Regions from separate parts of the Homo sapiens genome. Here region 1 is linked to region 2. The links are contacts of gene promoters, found by promoter capture Hi-C in human tissues and cell types (Jung and others, 2019). All regions are on one chromosome and are shown on one strand. Each heading gives the region's core, a stretch centred on a gene start or on the middle of the fragment in contact. The rest is flanking DNA. Distances are from core to core; before and after follow the strand shown. Region 1 overlaps ABHD8 (abhydrolase domain containing 8). Region 2 holds the start of NR2F6 (nuclear receptor subfamily 2 group F member 6).

What was found. Contacts are between HindIII fragments. The study calls those that stand out against the background at their distance.
Region 1: a contact is called between a fragment that was not itself captured here and the fragment with the promoter of NR2F6 in region 2, in 4 of the 25 tissues and cell types used here (dorsolateral prefrontal cortex, lymphoblastoid cells, spleen and 1 more).

The regions. Positions count from the first base shown.
Region 1 is chr19:17,296,219-17,302,697 of GRCh38, forward strand. It overlaps ABHD8 (abhydrolase domain containing 8), which reads right to left. Exons shown (of 5, transcript NM_024527.5): 2 at 4,638-5,406. The coding sequence starts at 5,398. It also overlaps a transcript of MRPL34 not described here. Among named protein-coding and RNA genes, the nearest start is that of ABHD8, 4.0 kb to the right of the region's middle. RefSeq lists enhancers at 4,743-5,243, 5,244-5,744 and a silencer at 6,102-6,396. The HindIII fragment of the contact is 7,858 bases long and covers 642-6,479 here.
Region 2 is chr19:17,242,210-17,248,133 of GRCh38, forward strand. NR2F6 (nuclear receptor subfamily 2 group F member 6) reads right to left here and starts at 3,710. Exons shown (of 4, transcript NM_005234.4): 1 at 2,734-3,710. The coding sequence starts at 3,011. RefSeq lists silencers at 3,061-3,130, 3,141-3,300, 3,701-3,950, 4,351-4,430 and enhancers at 3,694-4,643, 5,593-5,924. The HindIII fragment of the contact is 6,638 bases long and covers 3,576-5,924 here.

The DNA.
Region 1 (6,479 bases), core at 3,321-5,820, 55 kb after region 2:
TTGTTTAAAATTTTTGTAGAGATGGGGGTCTCACTATGTTGCCCAGGCTGGTCTTGAACTTCTGGGCTCAAGTGATCCTTCCACCTTGGCCTTCCAAAGTGTTAAGATTATAGATATGAGCCACTGTGCCCGGCCCTCATCAGATTCTTCAAGCCACCATGACCCAAAAGCGGTAAGAATTACTCATCAGCAAGTGGTAGGAAAGCAATCTGATTAAACAAATGCTTCCGGCTGCCCAGGGGAGGTCACTGTTTCCTACTATCCCTTCCCTTTCAGGATGTTCTGCCACCTGCCTCTGGGCATGACATATCTGTCTTCCTTATACAAGATGGAAGGCCTGAGAAGCCCCCAAAGCTGAGCTCCTCATTCCTACAAAAGCAGGGGTCAACAAACTATGTACGGCCTGTGGGCTAGTCATTTGCTTTTTTAAATACAGTTTACACTTTTGGAGATTTGAAAAATGTTTCCTAAATAAGGTTTTTTTTTTTTTTTTTGAGATGGAGTCCTGCTCTGTTGCCCACGCTGGAGCACAGTGGCGCGATCTCGGCTCACTGCAACCTCCGCCTCCCGGGTTCAAGTGATTCTCCTGTCTCAGCCTCCCGAGTAGCTGGGATTACAGGCATCTGCCATTATGCCCGGCTAATTTTTGTATTTTTAGTAGAGACGGGGTTTCACCGTGTTAGTCAGGCTGGTCTTGAACTCCCGACCTCAGGTGATCTGCCCACCTTGGCCTCCCAAAGTGCTGGGATTAGAGGCGTGAGCCACCGTGCCTGGCCAAAAAATGTTTCCTAAATAAAGTTTTATCAGAAGTTCCAACAGTGACTGTATGGCCTGCAAACCTAAAATATTCGCTATCCGATCCTTTAAGGAAATGTTTGCCAGCCCCTGCTGTAATGAGGAAAGGATACAGACAGGAGTCAGGCAGACCTGATTGTGTCAGGGACTTCCTGTATGCCTTTGGGCAGGTTGCTTCACCTCTCTGAGCTTCAGCCTCCACATTCCTGAAGTTGTAAATGTGCTGACCTAATAGCACTGTTATGGGGTCATGGGAACTATTGTAGGTGGGTGTTTTTTTTGTTTTTTTGTTTTTTTCTCGAGACAGAGTCTTGCTCTGTCACTCAGGCTGGAGTGCAATGGTGCGATCTCGGCTCACTGCAACCCCCACCTCATGGGTTCGAATGATTATCCTGCCTCAGCCTCCCAAGTAGCTGGGATTATAGGCACCTGCAACCATACCCAGCTACTTTTTGTATTTTTATTAGAGACGGGGTTTCACCATTTTGGCCAGGCTGGTCTTGAACTCCTGACCTTGTGATCCGCCTGCCTCGGCCTCCAAAAGTTCTGGGATTACAGGTGTGAACCACTGTGCCCAGCAGGTGGGTGCTCATTTAATTAGAGGAATCATTTCTCATAAGCATCAACTTTTGAGTATGTTATATAAAGAAATATAAACAAATAAGAGCTGTTACCTCTCAGTCTAGATTCCTTTCTTTTAGATACTTATGTAACTTCTTTGTTTTCTTTTCTTTTTTTTTTTTTTTTACTTTTTAGTTTTTTGTAGAGATGAGATCTTGCTTATGTTGCCCAGGTTGGTCTTGAACTCCTCAGCTATAGCAGTCCTCCCACCTCAGCTTCCCAAAGTGTTGGGATTATAGGTGTAAGCCACCACACCTGGCCACTTATTTATTTTTCTTTTTTCTTTTTTTTTTTTTTTGAGATGGAGTCTCACTCTGTCACCCAGGCTGGAGTGCAGTGGCACAATCTCGGCTCACTGCAAGCTCCACCTCCTGGGTGCACGCCATTCTCCTGCCTCAGCCTCCTGAGTAGCTGGGACTACAGGCGCCTGCCACCATGCCTGGCTAATTTTTTTTTGTATTTTTTAGTAGAGACGGGGTTTCACCGTGTTAGCCAGGATGGTCTTGATCTCCTGACCTCCTGATCCGCCCGCCTCGGCCTCCCAAATTGCTGGGATTACAGGTGTGAGCCACCACGCCTGGCCTTTTTTTCTTGTCTAATTGCATAGGCTAGAATCTCTAAAACAGTGGTGCTCAACTTGCCTGGCTGTTCAATCTTGCCTTTCTTCCTGGATAAAGGAGAGAATGAGGCCACTTGGTAGTGGTCAAGCCCTGGGGACCAAGCCTTCCATGGAGGGGTTCTTGGTAAGTTTTAGGTTGTATTACCTGCCCTTTAAGCAGGAGTGAATTACAGTAACCCATGCCTTTGTAAATGCCTAGAATTTACAGGATTCCGATGAGCGCTTCCTGAATGCACAGTGTTCTCCAGGGCAGTTGATTTTTTAACTTAGTCTAAGGCAGTGGTTCTCAGCTGGGGGTAATTCTGCCCACCAGGGCACGCTTGGCAACTACTGAAGACATTTTTGACTGTCATGATCAACACTAGATTGTGTAGTTGCATCCAGTGGGCAGAAGCCAGGGATGCTACTAAACATCCTATAGCCCCTCACAGAAAAAAAATAACCTGGCCAAACACGATAGTGCTGGGATTGAACAACACTGCTTTTTTTTTTTTTTTTTTTTTTTTGGGCAGAGTCTCACTCTGTTGCTCAGGCTGGAGTGCAGTGGTGTGATCTTGGCTCACTGCAACCTCTGCCTCCCAGGTTCAAGTGATTCTCCTGCCTCACACCCCCGAGTAGCTGGGATTACAGGCACACACCATCATGCCTGGTTAATTTTTTGTACTTTTAGTAGAGATGGGGTTTCACCATGTTGGCCAAACTGGTGTTGAACTCCTGACCTCAAGTGATCTGCCTGCTTTGGCTTCCTAAAGTGCTAGGATTACAGGCGTAAGCCACTGCACCTGGCCTGAGCAACACTGCTTTAGAACAATGTGAAACAATATCAGTGATGACGGAAATCCCTGTCTGATTACATATGCTAATGGGAGTTTTCAGCCTGGTATAGCGGCTCATGCCTGTTACCCCACCACATCGGGAGGCCAAGGAGGGAGGATGGCTTGAGCCCAGGAGTTCAAGACCAGCCTGGGCAACATAATGAGACCCCCCCCCCATTCTCTATATAATTTTTTTTTGAACTTGAAAATTGGCCTGGTGCGTTGGCTCACGCCTGTAATCCCAGCGCTTTGGGAGGCCGAGGAGGGCGAATCACGAGGTCAGGAGATCGAGACCATCCTGGCTAACACGGTGAAACCCCGTCTGTACTAAAAAGACAAAAAATTAGCCAGGCATGGTAGCGGGTGCCTGTAGTCCCAGCTACTAGGGAGGCTGAGGCAGGAGAATGGCATGAACCTGGGAGGTGGAGCTTGCAGTGAGCCAGGATCACGCCACTGCACTCCAGCCTGGGGGACAGAGTGAGACTCCATCTCAAAAAAAAAAAAAAAAAAAAAAATTAAGGCTGAGCACAATGACTCACACCTGTAGTCCTAGCACTTTGGGAGGCTGAGGTGCAAGGATCACTTGAGCCCAGTAGTTAAAGAACATCTTGGGCAACATAGTGAGATGCCATCTCTATTTAAAAGAAAAAAAAATTTTAAAAATGTAAAAATTAAATTGAAAAATGGGATTTTTTTCAAGGAGAAAAATTAGGATTTTTGTTTGCTTTGTTTTGTTTTAGGAGATAAGGTTTTGCCATGTTGTCCAAACTCATCTCCAATGATCCATCCACAAAGTGCTGGGATTACAAATGTGCACCACCGCGCGTGGTGGCCCCTTTTTTTTTTTTCATGACGGAGTCTCCTTCTGTCGCCCAGGCTGGAGTGCAGTGGCACAATATGATCTTGGCTCACTGCAAGCTCCGTCTCCCGTGCTCATGCCATTCTCCTGCCTCAGCCTCCCGAGTAGCTGGGACTATAGGTGCCCACCACCACACCCAGCTAATTTTTTGTATTTTTAGTAGAGACAGGGTTTCACCGTGTTAGCCAGGATGGTCTCAATCTTCTGACCTCGTGATCCGCCCGCCTCAGCCTCCCAAAGTGCTGGGATTACAGGCGTGAGCCACCGCGCCCGGATTTTTTTTTCTTTTTTAAAGAGCGACAGGTTCTTGCCATGCTGCCCAGGCTGGAGTGCAGTGGTGTGATCACAGTTCACTGCAGCCTCGACCTCCCAGACTCAAGCAATCTCCTGCCTCAGCCCTTAAGTAGGTGGAACTATATGCGTGCACCTCCTCACCTAGCTAATGTTTGTACTTTTTGTAGAGCTAGGGGGTTCTCCCTATGTTGCCCAGGCTGGTCTCAAACTCCTTGCCTCAAGATATCCTCCCGCCTTGGCCCCCGAAAGCACTGGGATTACAGGTGTCAGTGGCATCTCAGAGTCTCCCTCTGTCGCCCAGGCTGGAGTGCAGTGACACAATCTCGGCTCACTGCAACCTCCACCTCCTCGGTTCAAGTGATTCCTCTGCCTCAGCCTCCCGAGTAGCTGGGACTACAGGCGCGTGCCACCACGTCTGGCTAATTTTTGTATTTTTGGTAGAGACGGGGTTTCACCACCTTGGCCAGACTGTTCCCGAACTCCCAACCTCAGGTGATCCGCCTGCCTCGGCCTCCCAAAGTGCTGGGATTACAGGCGTGAGCCACGGGGCTCAGCCAAAAACTCAGTATTTTGTGACTGTAGTCCCTGCTGACCCCATCCCTCACCCCCACCCCACATGCCAGGGTTCACTTACCCGTAGGAATGGCCAATGAGCACATTTCGCTTCTTGGCATAGCGCTTGAAGATTGCTCGCATGTCCTCAGCCAGCGCATAGAAGGTGTAGGCTGCGGCCACCTGGGGCGCAGAGCTGGCCCCGTGGCCGGCCAGGTCAGGAGCCACCACCTCATAGCCTAGGCGCACAAAGAAGTCCAGCTGCTCCTTCCAGATGGCCAGGGAACCGCCGACACCATGGATGAAAAAGAGCACCACGTCGGCCTGGGCGCCTTTGCAGCTAGTGATGCGCTTCTCACAGTCAATATGGATGGTCCTCTTGGGGCGCCTGGCTCGCCGCCGCCGCCCACCACTGCCACTGCCGCTGCCGCTGCCTGCGCTGCCGGGGGCCAAGCGGCCATCGCTGCCCGCCGGATCTGCCAGCTCCACCTCCAGGGCGGCCGGCGGCTCCCCAGAGCCATTCTGCCCGTGTAGGAGGTCGGCTCGAGGGGCTCGGCCCAGGTTTTCCACCAGCAACCGCCCATTGCGGTACACGGTGATCCGGCGCTGACAGCGGACCAAGCCGGAGAGGTCCCCCTGGGCTGCATCCGAGGATGCGGATGATGGTGGAGGTGGGGCAGCGGCTGGGGCGGGTCCTGCATGCTTCACCCGCAGCACGCGGCCGGGCTTGACCTCTACAAAGGTGTAGCCATCGCTGGACTCGACGCTCTCCAGTGGCCCCACGGCGTTGGGGGGCGTGCCCAGCAGGCAACAGAAGATACCGTCGGTCACCCCGGTCAGCATGGTGTGTCCTGTGAGTGAGGACAGCAGCCAGTTCAGGTGCTGTCTCAATGAGAACCCTGCACCGTGCAGCAGGCACTCCCTGAGCCTTGGGAGAACTGTTTTAGACTCCAGTTTGGGGAGCGCCAGATCAAGTGAGCCACGGCACTGAGATTTTTTTGTTTGTGTGTGTGTGTGTGTGTGTGTGTGTGTGTGTTTTTGAGACAGTCTCGCTTTGTCATCCAGGCTGGAGGGCAGTGGCCGGATTTCGGCTTACTGCAACCTCCCCCTCCTGGGTTCAAGCGATTCTCTTGCCTCAGCCTCCTGAGTAGCTGGGATTATAGGCAGGTGCCACCATGTCTAGCTAATTTTTGTATTTTTTGTAGAGATGGGGTTTCACCATGTTGGCCAGGCTGGTCTTGAACTCCTGACCTCAAATTTTCCTCCTGCTTCGGCCTCCCAAAGTGCTGGGATTATAGGTGTGAGCCACCGTGCACTGACATGTTTTGTCTGAGCAGTGCCTTTGTGGTAGTTACCCTCCTGGGTCACCCTAGTCTATCCTCAGAGAGAAAGACTTGGCTATGGCTTACCCCACAGGGTGTCCACAGGGAAGGTGGTGGCGTCTTGTGTGGGGATGTTCCTGGAGAAGGGGACATTGTGGCAAATGTGGACCAGCCGGAAGACACCCCCTCCCCCCAGCTGGAGTTTATACCATTTATGGCCTCCTAACTCATTCATTCAGGTATACACTAACTCATCCATTCAGGTATACACTAACTCATTCATTCAGGTATACACTAACTCACTAACTCATCCAGGTATGCACTCACTAACTCACATATCCCCAGGGCCTCCTAAGGCATCTAAAATATGCAAATCTTTGGTGAGCCCCCAGTGAGGCTCCTGGCTCTGAATTTGACTCCTGAAAGGTGAGGCCCTAGGAGAGGGGGATGGGGACTGAGCCACAGAAAGCCTTGCTCAGCTCCCCTAGACCGGGGTGAGCCGGGGTCTGTTTCATAGAGGGCCAAGCTGAGGCCCAGACACTCTGAGAGGAAGCTAGACTCTGAACTTCCTCCTTGGCACCCTGGATTCTGGGGATCTGCTA
Region 2 (5,924 bases), core at 2,460-4,959:
TGGGAGGCTGAGGCAGGAGAACCGCTTGAACCCGGGAGGCAGAGGTTGCAGTGAGTTGAGATCACGCCATCGCACTCCAGCCTGGGCAACAAGAGTGAAACTCCGTCTCAAAAACAAAACAAAACAAAACAAAACAGATGAATCTCAGCTGCAGATACCCAGCCCTGCCCCTCAGGTGGCGACTGCCCCACTGAGCCTCGGTTTCCTCATCTGAAAATGGGAGGTCAGATATTGCCCTATCATATGGGATGGACTGGGTCAGAGGGGTTCACGGGGGACAGTGCCAAGACCCAGAGCCCAGCCGGAGAACCCAACTTAGGAAAGCTGAGGATCTGCGCCCACTCCCCCGTACCCCCCCTCCACCACTGCCTGGGTCCTGCAGCACCAGCCACTGAGCCCCTGGGAAGAGGCCCCACTAGGGCAGAGGGAGCTCAGGCAGAACCAGAACAAAGCCCAGCGGCTGGGTGGTGGGAGGGTCCAGGGCAGCCGGGTGGAAACGGCCTGGCCTGGGGCGGCCCTGCAGGCAGGCAGAGGCCCAGCTCAGGGGCCCCTGACCTCAGGGGAGGCCCTGAACCTTCAGTCTCAACTTCCCCAGCTGTGGAATTGGGACAGATCCATCCCTCCAAGGAGGGAAACAGTTAAGTTCTTCCTGTTATCCCACCTAAAGAGTGCAAGCTTTTTTGCCCAACCCCATGGCCCAACTCAGCTTCCTCCCTGGGCTTCTGGCCTCCAGTCCAATTTGATCAGAGCCCTCTCCTGCTCACACACCCTCTATGGCTCCCCATTACCCTCAGCCAGCATTTCAGGCCCACCTAGCTCTGACTTCTCCCATGGCTGCACAGTCCCCCTCTTACAGCACAGCTCCCCCAGTCTGCCACTAAGTGTTTTGTCTGGACCACATTCTGGCATGTCCCTGTGGCCTTTCTTCCACCTGCCAACTCCATGCTTCAAGGCTCATGTCCCCTAGCCTCCTCCAGGCAGCCCTCTCTGACCTCCAGGCAGAGCCTCTGCTCTCTCCCTGGGACCCCAGATCCCACAGACTTGGGGCATCTGTCTCACTGTGTCTCCTCCAGACTGGGGGCTTCTCAGGAGCTAGACTTGGAGCTGGGGTCTCTCTGGAGGGGCTGGCATCAAACTACCCAGGCTGGGCCCCAGCGAGACCCTGCTCAATCCATTTGAAGCTCAGAATGGAATGGTGATTTCACCAGGTCACACAACTGACACAGCACAAACCTGTCAGCTCCAAGCAAGGCCCCCCCCACCCAAAATTGCTGCTCCCTGACACCACCCTCAGGAAGCTCCTGGGACCCCAAAACTGCCTGAGCCCCCCTCCCTTACCCTCCCTAAAGATATGACCAGAGAGCAGGCGGTTTTCCAGCAGCAAGAATGAGGCCAAAGTCTAGTGGCCCACTTTGTGCTGGAGGAGGGAGCAAGGCAGCTCTGCCACACATGGCCACACCAGGCCAGCCCTGACCCGGGACCTGGGGCCAAACTCCACCCTCGGGTACCTGGGGCCCTATTTGGTGGCCTCAGCCAACAAGCCTTCCATCAGCCGTTCTCCCTGGGGCCACTCCGATCCGAACTCAGCGGTCCCCACCCTAGCCCCACAGTTCCCCCACAGTGCCCCCAACTCGGGCAGCGTCCCTCCATGTCCAACGCAAAGCAGGCACCAGGACCTCTCTCTGGGCCTTTGGGCCTCTGTTTTGGGCAGCTGGGAACTGAGACCGTCTAGACGGGCTCCACAGAGACCCTGCATGTTCCTGGGGTGCAGAGTAGGGGCTTATAAACGGACAGATCGGATGCTCGCCCGGGAACGGTGAGAAAAGAACTCCCGGGCTGGACAACCCCGATCGCTTTCCCTGGGGACCTTCCGCCAGAACAGCTAGCAAGGCCACGCCCTGCCAGAGAGGTCTCCGACCTGGGACAGCCCAAGGCTCCTGCTCGGAAACGTTTCACTCCCTGCCCGTCTCAGAGACACCCAAAGTTTGAGGGATTTTTCCAGGAGCCCCAGGTCTGCACCCACCCCTGGGGGAGAGGGACGTTTCAGTCAATTCCGGTGGCCCTGCCGGCCTTCCAGTGGCGATTTCCGGTGACCCAAGGCCCAGAGTGAGCCCAGAGGGGTTCCCTGAGATGGGCAAGCCCAGCTCCCACCCCCACCCCCACCGCTGGGCCCCTCATGCGAAGAAGGCCGCCCCGTGCCACCCCAGCCTCCCTCCGTCTGCCGCCTCCGTAGCCACAGCGACTTTGGAAGTGATATTTGACCCCAAGGGCGCGCCGTATCGATCCGCGCGGCCGCAGACAATGGCCCCTGGACGCTGCGAGCTCCACGGTCCAAGTTCCACGTTCGATTCCCTCGAGGGCATCCCGCGCGCCGGGATCCCCGAGAACGGGTGCCCTGGGGTTGGGTTACCACCCCTGACAGCACCCCTACCCCCACCCCAGCGCGGAGATGACCCCTCCCCAGAGAAAAAGCGGAGGGAAGGAGAAGCAAGTAACTGGGGCAAAAGCCTCCAGGGACCACCTGATGGGGGGGGAACCTGCAACGATGTAGCGCCGACTGTATACACAATCCCAGCCATGGAATGCGGGAGGAGGGTGCTGTGCCCCTATCTCAGAGGGGGCAGTGGAGGCCCAGGGAAGGTCAGCGCCAGGCCCAAGGTGACCGAGCAGGTCAGAGGCCTGCCCCAGGTCGGGGCGGGGTGCACGGCGGCGGCGCGCGGATGGGGGGCTCACCGGCAGGTGTAGCTGAGGTTGCGGCGGATGCTTCGCTTGAAAAAGCTCTTGCAGCCCTCGCAGGTGAAGACACCGTAATGCTTGCCGCTCGACTTGTCCCCGCACACCACGCAGTCCACCTGCAGCCCCGGCCGCTCCTCGTCGCCCGGCTCGGCGTCGCTGGCGGCACCGGGGGGCGAGGCCGAGTCGTCCTCGGCCGCGCGCGGGTAGCCGCCCGCCTTGTCCACGCCGTTCGTGTCGCCGCCGGGGCCGCCCCAGCCGCCGGTCACCATGGCCATAGCCCCAGGGCAGCGGGGCCGGGGCGCCCCCACCGCGCTCTTCCCTCCGGGCACCCCTCTCGGCCCGGGGGACCCTACGCGGCGCGCATTCGGCCCCGGCGCGCGGGGGGCACGGGCTGCACCCCCCAAAAAAGTTTTGCAGCAACTTCCTGCGGCCGGTCCTCGCGCCCGGGCGGAACTGGTCGGGCCGGTTCCAGGCCAACTTTCCCACGCGTGCGCGGGGCCGGGCCCGGGGCCGGGAGGGGCACGCTAGAGGCGCGGGCCGGGGGCCCAGAGGACTCGCGTCCCGCCGCCCTGGGGCCCCGGCGGGGGCGCGCGGGCCATGGCCCGGCCCGAGCCGCGCAGGGGGCGTCCTCTGGCCTGGCCGCCGCTCGCCCGGGGGCTGCGGCCAACTCAGCGGGCCGCCATCCGAGCGCGGGAGGCCGGGGGGAAAGTTTGGCCGCAAGTTGCGCGGCCGCCCGTGGCGGGGGGGGAGGGGCGGCGGGTGCGCGCCGGGGCTGATCGCCGCGCCCCCTGGGTCCCCCGGCGCCCGCGGCTGCCGCTCCGGGCCTGCAGGGCCGCTGGGCCGGCGCCTCTGGAGCTGCCGCCCCCGCTGCGGCCGCTCCTGCCTGGCCTGGGCCTGCGCCTGGGCCCAAGCCTCGCTCTCGCCGCCGCCACCGCCACCGACCCCGCGCGCCGGCCTCGCGCTGCGGCCGGTTTGACACACAGCGTTCCATTCGCGGGGCGGGCGGGGGGCGGGGGCGGGGGCAGGGGCGCGCGCCGCGGGCTGGGGGCGGGCGCTCGTTGCCCCGGCGACGGCCGCCCTTATAAGGGCATGGGTGGCCGCGCGCGGCGCCGGGCGAACGGGCCGGCGGGAGGGACGGGGGCCGAGCGCTGGGCCGCGGGGCCTGACCCTCCCCCGCCTCCCTCTGCCCCTCCCCCCGCACCCCCGCCCTCGCCCTCGCCCAGCTCGGGCCTTAACCCCTGCCGGGCCGCGGCGGGAGCCTCAGCCGCGCCTGCCCTCTGCCCTTCCTTGAGCCTCGCCAAGATGTCTCTCCAAGGCCCTCCCCTCCACCTCTGGCCTTGGACGTTGGGTCGCTCGATCACCCTCGAGGCGCCCCTCGGAACCTCTCCCCACCCCACAGTTCCTGGCAAAGCAATGATGGGGGGCCAGTGGCACCCGGGGGGGGGGTACGCCCCTGCGCAAGACACACGCGCGCGCGAGACAGACAGACACACACACACACACACACACACACACACACACACACACCCTAGATTGTGTTTGCTTCCTCTTCCAGAAAGTCGCCGCGTCTGACCCCCACCCCACCCTTTCTCTGCTCGGGTTAACACCTGGTGCCCGGAATCTCCAGGGGGAAGGGATGTTGTGGTCTGAGACCGGCTGGCCGGGGCCGCGAGGTCAGGGGGCCCCTCTGCAGAATTTCTGGCCTCCGGGGGCAGGGCGCCCACCCGCCCCGCGCGGCTGGAGGCGACAGGCATGCCCTGTCTGGGGGCCTGCCCCTTTTTCCCTTTTAATTTCCTTTTCTTTCTGTGCTTTGCAGAAAGGGCTTGGCCTGGCGGCCGGCTGGACTGCAGATGTCTCTTCCAGGCGCCCTGGAGCCTCGCAGCTGCCGCCACCTCCAACTCACCCCATCCCCCAGTACCGGGGCTGGGGCCCGCCCGACCAGCATTTATTAAGCACCCTTTGTATGCGAGGCCCGGGCTGGCGAGCCTCTGGCTCTGGGCAGGTTAACCTTTAACCGGCTGGACAAGCCCTTCCAGGAGTGACCTTTCACCTCGGAGTCTTGCAGCCCCAGCCACCCAGACTGTGGTCCCACCCCGCCCTGAGCCCAGAGCTGGACACCAGAGCATGCAGCTGGGCCTCTGAGAGCTCTGGCCAGGACAGTGCCTTCTGCGCACCCCCTCCTCTGCCTCCCAGAGCCCTGATGAGACTTGAAGAATTGCCCTCCCTGGAGTAGGGGGAAAGATTCTTAGAGATCTTACAACACTTAAAAAGAAACTGAGGTTCTGGGAGAGCCAGGCACACCCAGCCCTGGGCCTCTCAACCTGCTCCAGGGACGTTCTGGCTGCCTGGGAGGTGGAGGAGGAGGCGTTAGTAAACACGAAAAGCAGGAAGGACTAGGATTAGACATGAGCAAGGACTTCCCGAGGTCTAGAGTCGGGTTCTGCCCACAGCCTGATGTAATCCCTGCTGGGAGAGAGGAAGGCGTGGGTGGGCAGAGACGACCCTTTGGTTCTGAGGCTGCATGGGAATGTGACTGGTAATTTGGGATGAGGGCAGGGATCCTAGGCCCCTTGCCTGGACCTGCTAGGATCTTTGGTGGGGAGCATTGGGGTGGAGGTCTCAGAAGGGATTGAAAAGAGATTTAGATGAGAGACAGGCGCTGTGGCTCACGCCTGTAATCCCAACACTTTGGGAGGCCAAGTCAGGAGGATCTCTTGAGACCAGGAGTTCAAGACCAGCCGGGGCAATAAAGTGAGACCCGTCTTGAGCCCAGGTGTTCAAGGCTGCAGTGGGTTATAATCACGTCACGTCACTCCACTCCAGCGTGAGCAAGACCCTGTCTCAAAAAAAAAAAAAAAAAGAAGAGGGAGAGAAGACTCAAGGAATCTTGAGGGGATTGTGAAGGGGAGGGAGCAAAGAACTAGGTTTGGGGGAGACAAGTCTTGCGAGGCAGCTGAGAGCTGGGTGGGAGATGGGGGAAGAAAGACCATCGCAGATCCCAGAAACTCCAGTAGTTCCAGTCCCAAAGGCTGCCCCACCCCCTTCCAGTAGCCTGGCCACCCCTGTGCCCCCTGGGGCCCGCCTGGGGGTGGATCAAGGCTCTACCCCGCCTCCCTGACCCCTGCCCGCGGCCCTGCAGTAACATTTGACCTTGCGGCGGCCGCAAACCAGGGACAAAGGGGCCTAGG